Regions from separate parts of the Homo sapiens genome. Here region 2 is linked to region 1. Evidence: promoter capture Hi-C in human tissues and cell types (Jung and others, 2019). All regions are on one chromosome and are shown on one strand. Each heading gives the region's core, a stretch centred on a gene start or on the middle of the fragment in contact. The rest is flanking DNA. Distances are from core to core; before and after follow the strand shown.

Region 1 (6,636 bases), core at 2,752-5,251:
AAGACTTCTCTGCCTTACCTAGCTCCTATTCGCCCCACCTTTAAAAAGTGGCCGAGTCCAGCCCAATCAGACCCCAGGGCCACCATGAGTGCAGCGGGTAGCTTTGGCTTCTGGACCTTGCTCTGGAGTCACTGGCTTTGCGCCATCTATGACAGGGTCTCCATCCTAGGGTCTGGGGGATGTTAACTGGGAAAAAGGAGATTGGGGCATATGAGGAGGGCAGGAGGAAGAAAGATTTAAGATCTTTTGGGGGCTTTAATCCAAGTAATCACTTAAAGAATTGGCAGTTTTTAGCACCTCTAGGATCCAATTTTAGGTTATATGTCATTGGAAATCCAAAAGATACAGGAAACACCGTACTGCCTATGAACATCTAGCTGAGGAGGTAAGACATGCACAGCTGAGAAAGAGGACAGGTGAGCCTTTGGTCACTTGCAAATTGGGGTCAGAACTGCTCCATGGTGTGGATGGCATGGAAAAGAATTGGCTTCACTTACGAGTGCTTTAGGTAATTCATTCTGTACTGTGTTGGGCCCACAATGCATGTTCAGCAATTTTACTTAATACTCAACCAGGTAAAACAGCAGATTCCAGGATACCTCAGCACATCCTTACAATTCTGCACTTTAAGGGCAATTTGATTTTGCCATGGTTTCTCTTGCAATGTTAAAGGTTGGAGACAGGGCAGAGTGAAAGGTATTCTCTCTTAATGCTCCAGTTACACATAAAGGGTAGGTGTTCCTATTTCCTGCTCCCCTGCCTATATTATAGATAAGAAAACGGAGGCTCAGGGAGGTTGGGTTACTTGCTTAAGGTCACCCAGCTGCGAATCTGCCTCATTCCAAGGTCTGTGCTCGCTTGGTTATTCCAAAGAGCCTGAGAGGCTGAGTGTTTGGAAGCAGGACAAGCCTAGCTCTGAAACAGGTATGGGTAGGAGGACCGGGTCAGGTTGGGCCAAGAGCTGTGGGAGGAGCTGGGAACTGAGGGGCTCAGGACTCTGAGGCTGTTTTGGTGCTAAATAAAACAAAATAACAACATAGCACCATAATAAAACTTGTAGATTATTATTAATCAATTAATCAATACTCTGTTGAAATAGGAAAAATTCAAGGACAGATGAATTTCTACGTTGTTTTCTGCTCCCGGACCATCCCAACTGCTTTGCTAGGGCCCAGTCACTGTCTCCAGCTGAAGTCAGTTTTCCTTGAACTTACTGATGTTGATCTTACAGAGTTATAAGTTACGCTTATCACTGTGAAGACTGGCTGCAGCCAGCAGAGCTCGCTATGGTAGGCAATGGCTCATCTGAATCCAGCGCACATCTTGTTTTGAATTCCGCATAGGCTCAATTATGAGAGGCCTTCAAGGGAGCCTTATTTTGGGGGTGGCTTTATTCTTTTTCCCCATGCCGGGCACAGGCAGAAGCATCTCTCGGTGTGATCATCTTGCAGGCCGCTGGGCAGGTTTACAGCTTTTCCGACACTTCACAGAGAACTGCTGCTTACAGTATAATTTCTTTTTTAATATACACAAGACTGGAAATTAGGCATGAATGACAATGTGATCACATCTTAGGACGAGCGAAGGAAAGTCCCGAGAATGGAAGCTTTTGCAGGAGCTCACAGCTAGGGAGGCATGAAGCCCAGGCTGGAGTGTTCTGGTTGGAAATCAGTGTGATGCTCAGCTCCCTGCACAGCCTCACCTGGACCACCACCTTCCACCCGCTCACATCTCCCGTCCTCTGAGCTTCACTGCTCATGGCAGGCTTCCTCCACGGTGCCTTCCTGCCAGTGTGACCCACTCGGACCTTTCCCTGCCACGGCTGTGCTGCTCACACAAACGCTTGCTGCCCCCAGGTTTTGATGCTGGGACACCTACTAGGTTGATTAGTCTCTGTAGTTTGCACATGTTGTTCTCCCACCAAGTCAGGCTCTGTGCGTTACCCATGCTGCTAGCACAGCGCTTGGCACACGCATATTTTGAGTTGAGAACTTACTTTAAAACCATCTTCCAAATTTTGTACCCTGGCGGCTCATAGTCAGAGAACAGAGAAGTTAAGACTTTAGGACTCCACCACACTTTAAGGCCCACTGGGTGGGTCTGCACCAGCGCTTGCCTGTCTGTTCACACGTTCTCTCTCCCTGGGCCTGGACACGTCCTTCCTCACTTCTCACACTCAGCACTGTGTCCTTGCCCAAGTACAGACTCTCTTCCACTGCCCCCGCATCCCAAGGGAGCCCAGGATTGCTGCCCGTCTATGCACCTGTAGCTGTTTGTTCTTATTTCTACAACGGCATTATTCACATGAAAACCCTGCAGATGGATCTGAGTTCCTTAGGATAAGACCTGCCCTGACCATGTCTGAGGCTGAGCCCTGCAGACAACCTGGCCCACAGCAATTATATTTGCCTAATGAAGGCAAGGAATGTGGCTTACACAGACAAGAAAGCTCTCATTAAAATGTATTAGACACTAAGGATTCCATAGGAAACATACCTGGGATCATTAACAAGGTAAAGAATAGGATTTTTTTTTTTTTTTAAGATGTCTTAAGTTGCTCTGAGGCAGTGAGAGGGCAATTTGCTGCTGAGCAAAAACCTCCTCTGCCAGAGATTCAGGATCCACTGAGAAGTCAGGATGGCTTTGGAGCTTATCTACCCCATTACCCTGGTTCATGCCCTCCTCCACCCCTGCCGCGGCCTAAGCGGTGTCCCAAAGGCAGGGTGAGGGCTCCCGTCTCCCTGCTCCCACAGCTCTTTGTGGGTGTGTGTCCTGTCTGGGAGCTAGTGTGAAGTGTTGTCTCAGTGTGCGCTGTCCTCAGCGCCGGGGCTCCAGGAGGCTCCACTCTGACTTAGGCTTGCAACAAGGCCCAGCACATAAGGGTTCGGTACAGCTTGATCTAGGCATGAATGTGTGAGCAGAGCCTGTGACCACCGCTTCACTCCCACTCCGGGGATGGGGTGGGGAGGGCATGTGAGGAGCACTCCTCCTTCTGATCTGCTCAAGGCTGTACTCTCTGGACCCCTTTGTACCCCTTTCCCATTCCTATCCCTTTTGGACTTTTTGCATGCATGTATGTATGTATGTTTACAAGTGTGCACGTGTATGTGTGTATATGTGTGTGTATGAGTGTGTGTGTGTAAGTGAAGAATGGGGACAGTTATCTGAAGGCAGCTTAGACAAACTGAAATATGAAGAAGAGCTGTTTAATCGAATGCCTGGGCCTCTTTTCTAGGTAACATGTGCCCCCCGACAGAGCCAGCCAAAGGAAGGTGTGAGCCCCTCATGATGGCAGTGACTGCATGCTTTCTGGGTGCAAACACTTTGCAGGAGTATGTGATAATCAGTATGCTTTTAGTTATTGTTTATCCTGCACCCCGTGTTGCTGCCTAGGAAGGTGGAGGCTGACTGAGCTAGTGGTTGAGAAAGGCACAGAAAGTGTGCGTGCATCTCCCAGAACTGTAACGTCACACGTGTGGATGGTGGAGTTGCTTAGACACCAATGCCTGAGGTTCAGGAAGCTGCCGCATGCCCACGTCTTTGTGGCGCTAAAACCCCCGCACTCTTACACCTAGACAAGCTGATCAGGTGAAGGGGCTAACTCCAGAAGTGATAATAGAAGCATGATTTGTTTCACCCCTAATTCTATTAGGAAAAAACTGGCTGTAGTCCTTGAATAGAGCTCAATGACAATTTGAAGAGTACTAGAGAAGCCAATAAATTCATTAATAGGGAAGATTGTTTTAGCTAGACAAAAAGGTAATAGCCTTCATTGTAGTAGTTTAATTAGAAAAATAATAAACTCCCTTAGGAAGGATGAAAGCCCATAATTAAAAAGATGAGCTATTTGGAGGAATTCTGAATAGTACCTCTTCTCAGATTTGTTCCTAGCTGCTCTATTCATGGTCCAAAAGCACTTAGCAAGCTGAGGAATTAGTGGAAAATGTACTTACCTTCAGCTCTGAAGCAGGAACTTTCTGGGCAAAATGAATGAGAAGGAATGAGCTCGGAGAGAAAAGCAAGCAAGTGGACCTTGGGCCGGGAAGGGCCGGAACACATGCATCACCGGAGATACAGCTAGATTGTTATCATTACCTTGAATAAATGTCATCCCACATGAACTGTGCATTTCTGGTAATGTGAAGTTAGAGAAATGGAAAGACACAGGCAGATGAAGACATAATTTCCATGAGCTCAGCTAGTCAAGGTTACTTCCAATGTTTATGACAATGTTTCTAGCAGATTATGGAATTGTCATCTTGCTCTTTTTAAATGCCACTTTAGAGTTGCATTTATTTCCAAAAAGAACTAAGGAATTAAATAAATCAGGTTTTTGAGAAAATGGTTTTGGAAGAATTTGTTTTAAAACTTCTAGCAAACTTCTTGATATATCTTGCAAATATTTGGCTCATTAGTTTCATTAAGAAGAAGGGAATAGCCCCATTATCCCTATTTCACAAGACTAAACAATGAGAGTGAGGGAACTGTGTGCTCAAGTGCACATATGACGCATGGGTCCAGACAAGAAAAAAACCCTGTGTTCTGCCAATGCTTCTCCGTCCAAAAACTTCACAGAAACCGCCATAGATAAGAGCCATCATTCAAAGCAAAATTCTTCCATTTTAGGGTGCAATGCTGTGTGTTTTCTGCCTGCCGGGGCCTGCAGGGAAGGGCTACTGTTGGTGTCAGTCACAGCAACAGGAATGTTGAAGTGTGGAATTGGGCCAAGTTTCCAGATGGTCCTGGGTTTTTGGGGCTGGGGCCAAACCAGTGGCTGTTTCTGAAATGTGAGCTTCCGCCCCAAGCTAAAAAGTGTTCACACGTGGGTGGTCTGGAAAAGACCAAAGAGAGAGACCTGAGTTGAATTTGCCAGGCGGGTAAACACAATTTTATAAAGTGGCTTTTCCTGGCCTGTCACTGAGGCAAAGCGTGTTGTCCCCAGGAACTCATGGACCCAGGATCATCCCAGACTTCGACTGTTTCTGAGTAGGTGTGTGCCTCCGCAACATGCCCTGCAGCTGAAACCCGGCGTTCCACAGGCCTCTTTCCCTCTTCAGTCATGTAGTTGAGATAACAGAGAAAAGCAAGGCATTGCCTCCAGAAAGCTACTGTATTATCTGGAAAAGTAGAGACAACTCGTCCTTAGCCCTTGTACTTGCAGAAGCAGAGGCCCTTTGTCAGAGATCTGTGGATCTGATTAGCTGATTGGGAAAACCGGTGGCCAGCCCTGGGGAGTGGGACATCAGGCAGGCTGCAGACAATGGGAACACTGTCTGGAGGAGGCGAGCCTCGGCCAGTCCCCTGGGTGGGACCTGGGCCACTCTGATTGGGAGGGACAGGGAGAGACTTCCAGCAGGGGGAAGGTTGCCTAGGGGTTTGGCTAAGCCCTGCAAAGAGAGTAGCTATTGCTATTTTAGTTCTTCCATTTTGGGGGCTCATCTCTCTCCAATTTTTAGAGAAAAGGGGGCAAAAATCTCTTGGAAGGAGCAGAGTAGAAATGACAGAGTTTAGAACCAGAAGACACGCGGTCAGAGTTCTGAGTGCCAGGCCTCTAGGACTCCATTGCCTGGTGTAAAGCGGGCTGTTGTGAGAATTCAGACTAGGTTTGTAACAGTGCTCAGGGAAATCTAAAACCATATGCCAATACCTATGGTTTTTGTTATAACCCTGTCCAAACACTCTTGAAATAGTGGTATTTTAAAAGAAATATCTTTGCTGTAGGGAAACCCATTCAGCTGGTGATCATTGGAAAGCAAACTTGTAAGTGGAGATGCTGGTAGATGAACTCTGATGACCATGTTACAACTGCGCCACCATTCCGTCACCAGCCCAGTCTCTCTCTCATCCCAAGAGATACGATGGAAAAGGGGAATTTTAGGGAGCATTCAAAGGGCTTCTGTATGCACCCTTTCTTCTCTTCTCACACAATCGTATACAACTCGGTCACTTTCACAAATACAACTTCCTCCCCAGTGCTTGTCCCTCTCATGGAAAAGCTAAAGAGGCAGAGAGAGAGAAAGAGTGAGAGGGTGGGGGAGGCTTGGGAGGCAGAGCAAGGGGAAAGGAGATGCAATGGGGAAACAGAAGGGGACAGGAAGAAGAGACAGGGCCGGGGATCTGTCTTTTGTGTTTGCAGGACTGCCCCATTCTGACATAGAAAATGCTGGGGTTGGAAGGTAACTCACAAATGTCTTTGCTGAAATCTGCAGTGGAAGCAATGGTAAGAATCCACAGTGGGTTTCCTATGTGCCAGCCATGATGAATGTTCTCAGTGCTGTACATATCTCGACATTTAATCTTCTCAGCACATGTGTGAAGTCACCTTACAGACCCCATTTATAGATGGGGATCTGAGAAGTTCAGTGGCTCTACAGAGGCCATGATAGCACTTAAGACTTTCCTGTAAGAACGATGAGGAGTCAGGACTAGGATGACATGACCTGATTCAGGCTTTAAAGGATCCTCTCCACGGGTTGTAGGGGCCAGAGGGGAGACGGGACAGTGGTAGAGGTGGGTGCCTGGTGGGAGCTGCTTGAGGAGGAAATGGGAAGTGAGGAGAGGAGACAGCAAGCATGGACAAGCTCTTATGAAACATTTACATTTAAATTTTAAATAAATATTGTATATATTTAAGGT
Region 2 (7,250 bases), core at 3,395-5,894, 76 kb before region 1:
TCCCCAGTCTTTTGGGAACCGGGAACCTGTTTTGTGAAAGACAATTTTTCCATGGACAGGACTGGGGTTGGGAGGTGGGATGGTTTTGGGATGATTCAAGTGCATTACGTTCATTGTGCACTTTATTTCTATTATTATTACATTGTAATATGTAATGAAATAATTATACAACTCACCATAATGTAGAATCAGTGGGAGCCCTGAGCTTGTTTTCCTGCAACTAGATGGTCCTATCTGGGGGTGATGGGAGATGGTGATGGATCATCAGGCATTTGATTCTCATAAGGAACACATAACCTAGATCCCTCACATGTGCAGTTCACAGTAGGGTTCACGCTCCTATGAGAATCTAATGTTGAGGAGGCTGATCTGACAGGAGGCAGGGCTCACGCAGTAATGCTTGCTTGCCTCTGCTCACCTCCTGCTGTGCGGCTTGGTTCCTAATTGGTCTGGTCTGTGGCTGGGGGGATGGGGACTCCTGGTCTGGAGGGACTGCACGTGGCCACAGCAGAAGTCCCCACAAAGTGAGCACCCGGCCCACGGCTGTGCAAGATGAATCCCTGGAGTTACAGAAGGAAATATTATCTAAATAGCTATGCTTTACTGATTTAAAAATAAAATCAGCAATAAGATGTGTATATAATTGGTAAATACGTACTCAAAATATATGACTGGTAAAAATACACAGAAAATTATCTACTGATAAAGATTCATGATGGAAGAGTTTGGACACCAGAAGAAAGAATGCGGAGACGAAAGGAGAGTCCATGGGGCTGAAACCGAGACAGATGGGTAGTAGATGCACAGTCCCCATTTTAAAGAGGTTCTATTTCCTCCTAAGGGTAATAGGAGCTTATCAAGGGGTTTTCCACCAGGAAGTGAATAACACGACAAGAGTTTATATAAATCATGCTGCTATAAAGACACATGCACACGTATGTTTATTGCGGCACTATTCACAATAGCAAAGACTTGGAACCAACCCAAATGTCCAACAATGATAGACTGGATTAAGAAAATGTGGCACATAATACACCATGGAATACTATGCAGCCATAAAAAATGATGAGTTCATGTCCTTTGTAGGGACATGGATGAAATTGGAAACCATCATTCTCAGTAAACTATGGCAAGAACAAAAAACCAAACACCGCATATTCTCACTCATAGGTGGGAATTGAACAATGAGATCACATGGACACAGGAAGGGGAATATCACACTCTGGGGACTGTGGTGGGGTCGGGGGAGGGGGGAGGGATAGCATTGGGAGATATACCTAATGCTAGATGACACGTTAGTGGGTGCAGCGCACCAGCATGGCACATGTATACATATGTAACTAACCTGCATGTTGTGCACATGTACCCTAAAACTTAGAGTATAATTAAAAAAAAAAAAAAAAGAAACATCTCTGGCTCTGGGGTGGCTGTGAGAGTTCAGCCGGTGTCAGGAGGCATCCAGATAGTGTTTCGGTTCCTTGGGCAAGAGGGATGCTGGCCTGGGTGGCTGTGAAGGGGGCAGAGACTGGAGGTGTCCAGTCTGGGGGTAGAATGTGGAAAGTAAGGGGTAGAAAGAAATCAAGACAGCCTGATTTCTGACTAGAGCCGCAGGCAGGGCGTCTCCGGAGATGGGGAAATTCTGTGTAGATATCAGACAGGCAGTTGCGCAAGAGAAGGGCACAGCACGGGCAGTGCCCGCAGTCACAGGATAAGGCTGCACGAGGAGCGACTGCAGGGCGAGGAGCGACAGCTAGATCTGTGGACAAGCTTCCAGAGCCGCGTGCCTGGGGCTGCTACGGAAGCGGGCAGACTCCCCGCCCTGGGCTCTGTCCTGCCCTTCTTGTGCCTGGCCTCTTTCTAGGGAGCCATGGAAACAGTGCTCCTAGGATCCGCCCTCCAGTCCTGCTCTCAGTGAGAACTCAGCGCAGGGCTCCGGACACGGGCAGACGCCGCGCTTTGTCTTCCCGTCTTCCCCTCACCTCAGTGTCCTCTTTCTCTCACGTTCTTTTTTTTTTTTTTTGAGAGGGAGTCTCGCTCTGTCACCCAGGCTGGAGAGCAGTGGCACGATCTCGGCTCACTGGCAAGCTCCGCCTCCCGGATTCACACCATTCTCCTGCCTCAGCCTCCCGAGTAGCTGGGACTGTTGGCGCCCGCCACCACACCCGGCTAATTTTTTGTTGTTGTATTTTTAGTAAAGACGGGGTTTCACCGTGTTAGCCAGGATGGTCTCGATCTCCTGACCTCGTGATCCGCCCGCCTCGGCCTCCCAAAGTGCTGGTATTACAGGCGTGAGCCACCGCGCCCGGCCCTCTCACATTCTTAAGAAGGCACAGTTCCTCCTACTCCTTCAACCCCAAAGAGAAGCCCTCGGGAATATCAGTAATGAAAACAGCACGTTCCCAGGAACTCCCTGGCCCCGCTCCTCCCAGGAACCGTCTCTGCGGTGCTGCAGGCCATGAGCTCCGCTCTGGGTGGGAAATCCAGCCCCTGCCGCGAGGGACCTGGGCCGCTAGGCCAGGAGGCCGTGTCATCCCATTCACAACAGCAACAACGCACCCTTTCCACCGAGGCCTGTCCATGTTTGGGGCTGTTCTCTGCCTCATACAGCAAAGTGTGGGGAGGTGGAGATTGTTTTCTAGGAAGACAAGGTTCTTCCTGGGAGAAAAAAACCTCTTACGCAGTTGGCTTTGGCATTTTCCAGGAAAAGGAGGGCGGGGCTTGAGTCTGGGTTTTCTGTGAAGGCCGAGAAAGAAGGCAAGGATTATAACCGGAAAGTTCAGAGTGGGATGTAGCTACCCCTAGAACTCGTGCTAGTAACTCAGTCTGGGCTTCATAATTGTTGTCAAAGTGAATTCCTTCATAATAAAGAATATATAGTTGCCCTCACAAATTAGATAAATAAGCCTTTCCTCATTTTGTAGGAAGAACTGTGGGGCAGTAGAACACATACTGAGCCCTGGAGCAGGAGACCTGGGTTCTTGCAATTTTTTTTTTTTTTTTTTTTTGAGACAGAGTCTCACTTTGTCGCCCAGCCTGGAGTGCAGTGGCACGATCTTGGCTCACTGCAACCTCCGCCTCCCGGGTTCAAGCAATTCTCCTGCCTCAGCCTCCCAAGTAGCTGGGATTATAGGCATGTGACACCATGCTTGGCTAATTCTTGTATTTTTAGTAGAAATGGGGTTTTGCCATGTTGGCCAGGCTGGTCTTGAACTCCTGACCTCAGGTGATCTGCTCACCTCAGCCTCCCAAAGTGCTGGGTTTACAGGTGTGAGTCACTGCGCCCGGCCGCAATTCTTGTGATATGAAGTAACTGCATATGTTTTGGAAATTCCCTCATTTCAGCTGCACTTGCTGTAAAGGGGAGAGTTTGACTAGGCCTGGTGGTTTTCAAACTTCAGGTGGAGTCCTAGGAGCTCCAGGGGCCAGGGATGTGCCAAGAACCTGGGCAGGAGGAGCCTGGACTCATCAACTCTCTCTGCGGAATGGTCAGTTTCACGGAGAGCAGCTAGGAGCCAGCTGGTCTGTAGATTGTTGAGGTTCCTCCAGTCCTGAAGGCCATGATAGATCTTTTCCTAATATTCTTAGGTACAATTACCATGATACTTAATATGAGACACTGAGAAAGAGAGAGATCCAATACAAATCGATGGCGACATGAGAAGCCAGCTATGTCTTCTGATTCAGGCTACAGGATCACAGACCTCTTATATTTGGCTCCATTGTAGAGTCTGTGTACATAGAAAGGCAACAGGCTCTTCAAAATGATAAGAAAAAGGGCAAGAAAGGCTCTTCCTGAGGGTGCTCTAGCCTCCAGACTCAGGTTTACAAGGCAAGAATGACACAGCCTCTCCCACACCATGTGCATGGACGGAACAGTGCCCGAGGTGGCAGAACAAAAGGTGCAGTGGCACCCATGGCATAGCTGGCGGGGCACCAGCCTTCCCCCACAGTGAGAGGAATGGCCAAGGCTTCGGTACATGCCAAGGATGTGAAGGACGCTGCCGGGGAAAAGCAGTTTACAGGAGGCACCGCTCCTGTGGGTGTCCAGGTTTGTCTGCCTTACACGCCGCCCTTCACAGTAGAAAGGATGGATGCACTCCCACCAACCAAAGGAATGCTGGGGACACGTCGCCTGGATTTTTAGGGCAGCACCCCAAAACCAAGCAAAAGTCTTCTCTCATGGAGAAAATACCTCACTTTTGTGTCCCTGGCACCAGGCTCAAGCCAACTAGACTGAGAACCACAGACCACCCAGGGGTCTGGTGGGTGAGCTAGGTGACTAATTGAGAATGTGTTCAGTTCTGGCCTTTAAAAAAAAAAAAAGAACAGCTGGAAGGCACAATTTTAGAAGCAGGTAATTTTTATTTTATTCCTTTTGATTAAAATGGTCTGAACTGAACCTCAAAGGGGTTCCACTAATATAGTCTAATTAAATTCATTTGACAAAAGCCTCACTTATTCCTCTCTTCACAGAATACTCTGGATGTGGTGAAGCTAAATTTGAGGGCTCTGGAAGGACCTATGTATTAATTCAGTAACTTAGTGTTTGTATGCATATCGATCTAAGCAAACATACCTAAAAGAAGAATGAGTGTGTAAAAATTGTGGAATATTCCAGATAAAATGGACCTGTTCAAGCATTGTGTAAAAATACACCCATCTTATCCATTCTAATGAATCCAGCATGTTCAGACACTTGTGCCTTCTTCATTTATTCCTTCAATACTTTTAATATTTAGTATTAATATAACAGAAATGACACATTACAGATAATATTCAGATACATGTCTCATAAGATTTTGTGGCTACTCATCAGCCCCTCTGCGTCAGCATGTTGGTGAGAATCTTGGCCAGGAGGGTCTGGGATTCCATAGCTCTGGTCCCACCTCACCTTCTTCCTGTGCCATGGTTCTCATCCAGCCAGACTTCTCATCATGGGACCCATCAAATGGGCACTCCTCTGCATCACAGCTGACACATTATGCACAGAGATTGTGTCTTCTTTCTGTTTGCAACTGTTCAAAGGATAGTCTTTAAAATTCAGAGGCCTCTACCTCAACTGCACAGATTTCTAATTCTACTCCTCATGTTATTTCCTATCTTTTTGCTAAATAACAATTTTGTCGCTAAGATGCTAATGATACATTCCCTTTTGAAGCAAATAAACTCTGCCCAGTGTTCCTACCAAGCGCCCTCCTTCTTTGAATCTCTGAAACCTATGACCAAATAGTATTTTGTGGTTTAGTGGTTTCTTACCAAGTACCTCAAAGGGAAAGTATGGTGGCATGGATAATTCGAAAGAGTAAATGTCTCTATTTGACTTTGGAATATTGTTTTATTCCAACAATATCCTAGTTGCTGCCTAATTAGTTTTGGGCCATGGTTAATAGTGAACTAGCTTTCATCCCTTGAGCAAATAAACCATTTCATCTTCTCTCCCCTATGTATTCAGATTCAGTTAGCTTCCCTCTCTGGGTGTGGATAAATTGAAATTCTGCAAATGATATTTTCTTTAGGCAGAAATGAAAAAAAAAAAGGTAGAATTGAATCTTTCTGACCATGGAAAGATTTAATTCTACCTTTTTGTGCATTGAGATCAGCCTGGGCAACATAGCAAAACCCCATTTCTACGAAAAGTACAAAAATTAGCTGGACATGGTGTCGCGTCTGTAGTCCCAGCTACTTGGGAGGCTGAGATGGGACCATCTCGTGTTGGCTTCTTTTTTAAAAAATCCTTGTATTAATTAAACATTTCAACTCTACACAGTTTGGAGTCAACAAAACTCATATAAATACCACACAGCTTTATCAAATTGTAACATTTGTCTATATCTACTTATTTTTTATTTTTTGTTTTTGAGACAGTTTTGCTTTGTCACCCAGGCTGGAGTACAGTGAGGCGATTATGGCTCACTGCAACCTCCACCTCCCAGGCTCAAGCAATCTCCCCGCTCAGCCTCTCAAACAGCTGGGACTACAGGCTTGACGCCATGTCTGGCTAATTTTTGTACTTTTTGTAGAAATGGGTTTTTGCCATGCTGCCCAGGCTGGTCTCAAACTCCTGGGCTCAAGAAATCAGCCTGACTTGGCCTCCCAAAGTGCTGGGATTACAGGTGAGAACCACCACGAGTGGCCTCCTGATGGCATATAAATAAATTATAAATGAATATTAAATTTTATTTAATGCTTTTCCAGCATCTATCAGCTGATCATTTTTCTCCTTTAATTTGTTAATGTGATATATTACATTAATAGATATTTAAATATTAAGCTGTCTTTGCGAACTACAAATAAAGGTTGATATGTATTATTTATGGCCAGAGTTATAAAGCTATGTTTTTTGACCAAATACTTATTCTGAATTATACTTTCATATATTTAAAATTATTAATACTGATATAATCTAATATATATTTTATAAATGACCTTTAATGAATTTCAAGAGAAATGGGAACAGCAGCCAAAAAGTTAAAACTTAAGATATATGGTTTCCCTAAATATACCTTTTGAAATAGAGGAAAAAGAAGTCTTCATGTACTACTTACATGGGTACTGCTTTACCTGTATTTAGTGAGAGGGGTTTCATATACTTTGTGCAGATCCGTATTTGCTACACATGCCACAGTTTGCGGCTAGAGCCTCTTATGCTCAAGAGTGCTGATCTCCTTTTGACATTATCATCATTAAAGAAGTAGCAAACAACCACAGCTGTTATATACTTTGCCAGCATGTGCTGAGTATGTAAGATCTAAATATTATTTATGCAGAATTGCAGAGAGAATGATCTAGTTGTTTCTGTCTGCAAACCCATATAGATACTCCTTTACTGATGCATATAGTCTGTAGTATAATTGAAAAATTTGATAGTTTGTTAGCAAGTCTTGAAGAGCCTCTAGGTATGCATATACCCTCGTACAATGAAAGTTCATCTTTCTTCACATTCCCTAGTATCTCAACGTCAGACTTTGACCATGTTCCGCAGAATTCTGCCAAGATAGGGAGATCAGGGAGCAGGAAGATCAACCACAAAAGATTAAGAACTGGCCGGGTGCGGTGGCTCACGCCTGCAATCCCAGCACTTTGGGAGGCTGAGGCGGGTGAATCACGACGTCAGGAGATCGAGATCATCCTGGCTAACACGGTGAAACCCCGTTTCTACTAAAAATACAAAAAATAAAAAATTAGCTGGGCGTGGTGGCACGTGCCTGTAGTCCCAGCTACTGGGGAGGCTGAGGCAGGAGAATTGCTTG

The links. Contacts are between HindIII fragments. The study calls those that stand out against the background at their distance.
Region 2: a fragment that was not itself captured here is called in contact with the fragment with the promoter of MC2R in region 1 in 3 of the 25 tissues and cell types used here (dorsolateral prefrontal cortex, mesendoderm cells and thymus).

Annotation. Positions count from the first base shown.
Region 1 is chr18:13,911,535-13,918,170 of GRCh38, forward strand. MC2R (melanocortin 2 receptor) reads right to left here and starts at 4,002. Exons shown (of 2, transcript NM_000529.2): 1 at 3,954-4,002. The HindIII fragment of the contact is 21,573 bases long and covers 1-6,636 here.
Region 2 is chr18:13,834,996-13,842,245 of GRCh38, forward strand. No RefSeq gene overlaps it. Among named protein-coding and RNA genes, the nearest start is that of MC5R, 14 kb to the left of the region's middle. RefSeq lists an enhancer at 1-458. The HindIII fragment of the contact is 9,332 bases long and covers 1-7,250 here.